Regions from separate parts of the Homo sapiens genome. Here region 1 is linked to region 2. Evidence: promoter capture Hi-C in 16 types of primary human blood cells and fetal thymus (Javierre and others, 2016). All regions are on one chromosome and are shown on one strand. The core of a region is centred on a gene start or on the middle of the fragment in contact, and the rest is flanking DNA. Distances in the headings are between cores, read along the strand shown. Region 1 has its middle 110 kb from the start of MVB12B. Region 2 holds the start of PBX3 (PBX homeobox 3).

Region 1 (3,825 bases), core at 989-3,488, 470 kb after region 2:
TTCGTATTTTCCTTAATTACTAGTGAGATTGTCTTTTCATATTTATTTGCCTTTTCTATTTCTTCATATATTTATGACATATTATAAAAGATAAAAGCAGGTTAGAAAACATTATGTATAATATAATCCAAAGTTTGTAAAAAGAAGTTTATCTATGCATAGAAAAATAAGACTGGCAGGAAATAAGACAACATGGACTGTGGTTTTGTCTGGGCGGTGAGATAATGAATGAGTTTTCTTTTTCATTTTCAAGCTTACGTATTTTCCAAATTTTATCCAAGAACCATCCATTATTTTGTAACTAAAAATGTGATTTTAAAAGTAACTATTATTATAATCATATTAAAATAGCCCAAAGTTTCCAGAACAGAGTCGGGCAGCAAAGCAGCCCACAGGTTCTTGAAAAAGCACCGTCCAGCCAAACCCCCAGGGACATTCAAGATTGGCTTCCTTACAACTGCAGAAAACCCATATGCGATGTATTCTGTCTCTAGAAGGGCAAAGGTGGGCCACTGGGGGTGGGGCAGCAGGCCTGGGATGTGGCCAGTGGGTACCAGGCGCTCACAGGCATCAGTGGGTAATTACATCTCCTTTTAACACATGCAAATTGTATCAGTATTATTTATATATTCAAAGCCACGGATGAATAATATATGCATTTATGCAGAGGTAATTGCCTTAGCCAGGTTCTTCCTGGGACTTTTATTGTCTCCCCAGATACTGAATATTCAACTCCTCTCTCCCGACTGGAGCTCGGGGTGCAGTGTGCTGTGTGCAGCCCCAGCCTCCTCCAGGGAAGGGGAGAAGGCTGAGCAGGGAAGGAGGCCTCAATTTGAGGTGTATGGGTAATGAGGCTGAGGGTCAGGGCTCTGGACTTGCAACCCCAGCTGCTTCCTCCCTGGCTCACCCCTGGTTCAGGGATGACACCCAGCTTCCTTCTTTGGTGCAAACTCTAGTACTGCAAGAGTCTGTTAAACCTGGGTGTTCGCCTGCATCCATGCAACCAGCACCACCAAAAAGGCCACCACCTCCTTTGCCCTATTGACAGCCTTGCTTAAGAATCTCTCACCTTAACCCGTGCATTTTTACAAACTGCTGCAGCCAGATCAGTTTAGGCTGTGACCGTGGCGGGCAGTTCTGGTCTCTGTGGGGGCATCCCGGGTAGACACCCTCCCATCTCATGCAGCCTCCTCTATTTGGTGCAGTGTGGCCCAGCCCTGGCCATGCCCCGTGGGAGTGCAAGAGGAAGCAAGGAAGCAGGAAGCATTGTTCTAGATGTCTTCAATGAAGACGCAGGAAACAAAGTTAGATTGCAGTGAGTGAAGGGTGCAGTGGAGAGCCAGACTCACTGTCAAGGGAGTAGATCTCTAAGCCTAGCCTTGCTTTTTGGTGCTTTCTGTGCACCTCTTGTCTGAAAAGGTGTCACTTTGGGGGAAATGAGCTCAGGGGCAGCACCTGCAACCCCCACCGCCCTCCCCAGGGTGAGGCCATGAGCCCACGAAGAGATCCCATATAGACTATTTTAAGAAAGTTGGCAGAGTAAGGAAATTGAGAGCTTTGATGAAATGAGAAATTTGCTCCCAGGGAAATTTTAAGAGATGGGACAGCATAAGGTTTCATGGCAGGATGTGCCAGGGAAGGGGAGGCGGCTGGGGACCCCAGAAGAGGAGGGCTCTCGGTGGAGGGGGTTTCTGGGGAGATGAGATGAAATGGGGGTGTGGGCACAGGCAGAGGCAGCGCCCTTCAGGAGCAGAGACCCCCATTCTCCTGAGGCCGAGGGGAAGCAGGGCAGAGGCTGTGAGTCCAAGAGACGTGCAAGTTTGGCAGAGGCAGGCAGGAGCTCTGATCTGTGCCTTCTGTTCTGTCCATTAACTGTGAGATGAAATTCCAGAGAGCAAGTGGAGGGGTGGGGAGAGGGGATCCTTGGGGACATAGGAAAAGTTTGGAATAACTGCTGAGAGGGTGGAGGAGGGGTCCGACATCCTCTCTGGCCCCCAGTCTTACCAGGCTTTCACTCTGCTACCACACCAAAGTGCCCTCGGTCAAGGTCTCCAGTGACCTCCTGACCTCCTTGTTGCCCAATCCACTCATATCTGTCCTCTAGCCAGCACTTGACATGGTCATTCGCACCTTCCTCCTGAAAACACTGCCTCTGCTTGGCTTCCAAGATGCTCTCAGTTGTGCTCCCACCTCTCTGACCATCCTCCCTGGCCTCCTTTGCTGGTTCCTCCTCTTCTCATCCTAAAACCCCGACGTGCTCAGGGCTCAGGCCTCAGACACCTCCAGCTGCACACACTCCTCAGGTGGCCCCTTCCTGTGTTATGTCTTCCAATCCCGTCACATGGCTGAGTCCCTGAGTTTAGCCTCCAGCCCTGGCCTCCCCCTGCCTCCAAGCCTGCACACACAGGGGCCCGGTCCACAATTCCCTGTGACTGTGCACTGAGCACCATATACCTGACATGGCCACAGCCACGCTCCTGATTGTCCTCCCTAAACCCTCCTCCATGGCAACCCCATTGTCCCAGCTGCTCAGGCCAAAACCTGGGAGATATTCTTGACACCTCCCCTTCTCCCTCAACTCACCTCCAACCCATAAGGAAACTCATCAGCAATTCCCTTGACATTCATCCCCAACCAGACCACAAAAGTGGTCAAAAGGCCACCTCCACCACTGCCACCCTAGTGCAAGCCTGTGTCAGTCACAGTCAACCTGGATGGCCAGGGCAGCCTCCTACCTATCTCTCTGCCTCCATCCAGCAATTTATGCATGAGTCCCAGGCACCTCTCACAACACAGGGCTGACACTGCTGCTTCTTCACTCCAAGCCCTCCTCCAGGGGGCCCACCTCACTTCAAAGGCCAGCCACAACCCCAAAGCCCTCCACAATCTGCTCCCCTCCCTGCCCCCCTTCTCCGACCTCCTCTCCCGCAACCCCCTCCCTGCTCTCGGTGTCCAGCCACACTGGCTGTCGCTGCTTGGGGCTGGCCTGGGGCCCTGCCTTGGGCTGTGGGTGGCAGCTGTTCCAGTTCAATCAGCTTAAAAATCATTTGAGGTGATGTGGAAACCCACCTGCCGACTCCACATCAGGAGACGCCCAGATACGGCCAACTGCACAGCCAGGTCACGCCCCCACAGGGTCAGCATCTGCTCCGTGATGCACGGGGCATGGGGACAGAGTGGCCACTGGGGACGCTGCAGATGGCCAAGGGGTTGTCATTAACCAAAGAGCAGCAGGATCCAGGCCCTGGCTTGGGGTAAATAATGGGAGGGGAGGGAGGAGGTTGACTCATTGGAGAGGGTATATTTTTTAAATTTTTGCCATAAAAATTGCAAACATTCAAAGGTAGAGCTGATAATATCATGAGCCCTCTGCAGCCTTCACGAGTTTCAATCATGATCAACTCATAACCAATTTTGTTTCATCCATTTTACCATTTGCTCTCCCTCAATTATTTTGAAGCAAATCCCAGAGATAATAACATTTCAACCCAGGCAATGACTCTTGTTTCTTTACCTCTAGGACTAGATTGCACTGTCACAATAAGCGTGGGGTTCTGGGCTCTTGGATACCCCAGCCTTCTCTCTGGGCCGGTTTCTATTAAAGGACAATGTCCTAGGTGAAATAGTGATTTTTCAGGAAATGATATTAGCAGGAAGGATAGTTGAAGGTGGCCACTCAGGGACTTTCAGAGTGCCAAGCCTGGAGCTTGGGCCAAACTGGCAGGGTAGGGCACCAAAGCCAGGGACAGGGGAGCCAGGTAGCCTCCTGAAACCCTTTATAAAGTGACTTATGGAAAAATTTGGATCCCAGTTGAAGTCTCAAGA
Region 2 (3,947 bases), core at 1,157-3,656:
ACAGCTTTAAAAAACAAATTAAGAATAAAGAAAAAACCCAATCAATGACGATTATAAGTAACCCATAATGGGGGCTTCAAAGAAGAATTGGAAACTTGACATATCAATGGGGTATAGAAGAGCAGAGAATATTAATGAACATGAAGGGGGTTCTTCTTTGGAGGTAAGTAAGCAGAGTGGATTTTTTGGAACTCCCTCCTCAGCAGCTGTGCAGTTTGTAAGGATTTTAGCTTGCCTAACTGTAAGCTTAGCTATTAGCTTTGCAGTGGGGAGTATTTAAAAGTACACACAACATATGAAGGAAAGAACCTGGAACCGAGTAGCCTGCTTCATTCCAAGAATCCATCTGGCATTTAAAGAACTGCTTGTCCTACATTAAACCCTGCAGAGTAAGAGCCATTTTTCATATCCTCATACCCCTATTTTTGGTTTCAGGTAAGACAGCTTACTGAGTTTGGAGAAGGAACAAAGAGACTTTTCCGAACCACCGAACCAAAGGACTCATCTAGGGTGAGCTCAATGAATCTAAAATCGGGAACACACATTGCAGCCCCTGTTTGGGAAATCAGCTTAAGAGCAATCTCAAGTCTCCACAAGAGGCGGAGGTCCATATTCCAAAATAATGTGAGCCTTCAGTTATTTGTAGGTAGAATTCAATGGAAGAAGGGGTGTTATAGATACGAAAAATCGTGGCTGGCGTTACCAACATTAAATGACTCGTGGTGATGGGGTAAGTTGACAAGTGAAATCCAGTCTCTTCCTAAACAAACGTATCTTTGTAATGAAGAGCTCGTTTTTGCAGCTTCAGTACATCTGGAGGCATCGAATAGCAAACGCTGCCAAAGGAGTAGTCCCTGGATTATCAGGAGTTGCAGAGTGTGTAAAGTGTTGTAAACCTTGAAATTAGTCCTGGACTGAAGGCACTTTCCCTCCTCCCAGACTCGCTTCTCTCTGACACATTTCCCCTTTCAATGGAAAGTCTATGGCAGTCAGGTCCACTCAGCTCAGACTTCAAGTATGTGAGACCACAGGTTCCCACCTTAACTGGTCACCCATTGAGGGACAGCACAAGACCCCGGTGCTGGCGCCAACGCTGAGCTGCGCCCTCTCGGTTACCATGGCGACCGCAGGCGGGGCGAGGCCCCCACTCGCCGCTTCCCCGCCTCTGCCCAGAACCTTTCGAACGCTCCAATTGGGACGACCCTTTCTTGCCTCTGTCCCGCCCCATTCGGCTCTAAGCGCTTTGCGATTGGCCCGGGACGAGCGGCCTGGTACCCAGAGGGCACCACCTCCTGACAGGAAGAGCGGGAAAGTGCACCAGGAGCTGTCCGAGGCGTGAAGCTCACGGGCGCGGCGGGGGAGCACACGGTTGGCTTTGCAGCGAGTTGCCCACTGTCCCATACACAACCCCCCGCTCCCATGACTGCCAAAAGCATGGAGCAGGAGTCGGGGTGCGGGCACACCGTTTGTGGGCCGGCCCGGTCTATCCCGGGGGGCTAGGACGCGACGAGGTTGGAGCGAGGATCCGGCGGCACACTCCGGAGCGCGGAGTATCAGAGGCCAGAGGGAACGGGCCGGGCCCCGGGGGCGGTGCCGGCGGCGGCGGCGGGAGGCGCAGAGCCCAATGAGCGCGCGCACCGCCCCGGGGGCGGGGTCTGAGGAGCGCTCCCCCGCCCTTGCCAGCCCCCGTCCCTCCCCCCGGCGCGGGGCCGCAGTGAGTGAGTGGCACTGGCAGCCTGTCAATCCCTCGGCCCAGCGGCCTTCCAGCCCGGTCCGCGGCGGCTGCTGGCTGGGTGCGCGGCTCCGGCGGCGGCGGCGGCGACTTCTCCCGCCCTATCCATCGGCTGTCCGCCCGGCGCGCGGCCCGCCGGGGCCCTCCTCCGGGCTCAGCGCCCCCGCCGCCTCTGCCCGCCCGCTCCCAAACTTTCCTCCTCCGCCCCCCCTCGCTCCCCGCGGCCCGCCCGCAGGCCTCCTCCTCCGCCGCCGCCCGCCGCCGCCGCCGCTGCCTCCCCCGGGGCCGCCGGGGCTCGGATCCCGCCTGGCCGAGGCGGCGGCGGCGGCCGAGGAGGGCAGTGCGCAGGCTGGCGCGGGGGGCGGCGGGCGTCCCGGCAACTCGGCGGGCGCTGAGGAGCAAGTTGCGCGGGGCCGCCCGGCGGGGCGCGCGGCGGCGAGGAGGCGGCGCGGCGGCCGCGTGAGGGCAGCGGGCGCCGCCGCCTCCGCCTCCGCCACCGCCGCGGAGCCCGGCGCTTCCGCCCGCCGCTTCTCCTCAGCCTCGGCGGCGGCGGAAGCCGGAGCCGGGCGCCCGTCCTCATCGCCTCAGCCGCGGGCCCTGCCGGCCGGGCCGCCCCCTCCCCGCGCGGGCGGGGAGCGCGCGGCCGCCTCCCCCTCCCCCTCCCCCTCTTTCTTCTCCTCCCTCGTCGCCGCCGCCGCCGCCGCCGCCTCAGCCTTCGCCTCAGCCGCCGCCCGCTCCCGCCCGCGCGCGGCGGGATGGACGATCAATCCAGGATGCTGCAGACTCTGGCCGGGGTGAACCTGGCTGGCCACTCGGTGCAGGGGGGCATGGCCCTGCCGCCTCCCCCGCACGGCCACGAAGGGGCGGACGGCGACGGCAGGAAGCAGGACATCGGCGACATCCTCCACCAGATCATGACCATCACCGACCAGAGCTTGGACGAGGCGCAAGCAAAGTTGGTGTCGTCTCATTAAGCATCTTTTGTGTGTGTGCGGGAGCCGGGCCCGCGGCCGAGTCGAGGCCCGGGGTGGCGCCCGGGGCTAGGGCCGCAGCCCCCGGCGGGGAACTTTCTCCGAAAGCCGGCCGCCCGCCCCGGCCTCGGGGGGACTTGCCCGCGCCCCCCGAAGCGGGCGGGAGTCGGCAAAGTTGCTCTGGGGGGCTCGGGACGGACTCGGTGCGGCGCGGATTCCGTGGCGTCCTTTCCCCCGTCCTGCCCCTCGCAGCCCGGCCCCCTCCCAGGGATTTAAACCTCCCGCCCCGACCCCGTGCGGGCCGCGCCGCCGGGAAGTGTAACTTTCTCCTCCGGCGGGGAGTCCCGGCGCCGGCTCCCGCGGCCGCGGGACGACCTCGCGATGCGGGCGGCCACCCGGGCCCGGCGCGGGGCGATGGGCGGTTCCCTGGCGGGTCCGGGTGCGGACGGCCAAGTTCTCGGAGAGGGAGGGCCGCCTTGCAAACTTTGCCGAGCTGTCACCCTCCCGCTGGCCGCAGTCGGCCGGCCTCCTCTGCACAGGAGCGGACGCGGGAGCCCCTCCGCACCCGTCCCCTCCCCCGGGTCGCCTTCGCCTGCCCCCGGGGCGAGGCTCCCCGCGCGGGTTCGCGTCGCGTCTGCAGTGGCCGAGGCTGCTGCCTGCCGGGCAGATGGGTCCGCCTTGTTCCGGCTGCAGCTTTCGCCGCCGGGGCTTGCTGGCTGTCGGGAACTAGTCAACTGGAGTTTTTGTTGACTTCCCACGGTTCAAAAGGGCCTTCCAGAATGGGGGGCTGGAATTAAATCTTGGGTCTAACTTAAAGGAAGGCGCCATATTATTCCATAGGTGATGCTAATACCTTTGTGTTTCGTTATTTGTTTTTTAGGAAACATGCCCTGAACTGTCACAGAATGAAACCAGCGCTCTTCAGCGTCCTGTGTGAGATCAAAGAGAAAACAGGTAAGACGCTGCGCCCCGCAGTGGGCCTGGAGACCCCCGAGGTGGGGGTCGGAGCTACTCCTTCGACTCTCCAGTTGAGAGCTGCTGCTTTTGGGCACCGCCATCTTTGATCATTCTCTCCTTCCCACGTCCTGATCTTGAGAAAAAACTGCAATAAATCTGGAGTCAATTTCTCAGTTCTGCTCCTGGTGTAAAATGAAGTGTAGGTGCGGACCGGGCTGGATCGCCGTCCCTCGGCGGCCGCCCCTGGCTGCAGGCGGGGAGGGGGCCCGGAGCGCCAGCCGCCCTCT

The links. Contacts are between HindIII fragments. The CHiCAGO score rates a contact against its expected background, and 5 or more counts as called.
Region 1: a contact is called between a fragment that was not itself captured here and the fragment with the promoter of PBX3 in region 2, in 1 of 17 cell types (megakaryocytes). The highest score is 7.8, in megakaryocytes.

The regions. Positions count from the first base shown.
Region 1 is chr9:126,216,826-126,220,650 of GRCh38, forward strand. No RefSeq gene overlaps it. Among named protein-coding and RNA genes, the nearest start is that of MVB12B, 110 kb to the right of the region's middle. The HindIII fragment of the contact is 3,975 bases long and covers 252-3,825 here.
Region 2 is chr9:125,744,967-125,748,913 of GRCh38, forward strand. PBX3 (PBX homeobox 3) reads left to right here and starts at 2,407. Exons shown (of 9, transcript NM_006195.6): 1 at 2,407-2,687; 2 at 3,584-3,657. The coding sequence starts at 2,488. PBX3-DT (PBX3 divergent transcript) reads right to left here and starts at 963. Exons shown (of 2, transcript NR_122032.1): 1 at 450-963. RefSeq lists silencers at 1,502-1,931, 2,182-2,231, 2,242-2,771, 3,042-3,381. The HindIII fragment of the contact is 3,823 bases long and covers 245-3,947 here.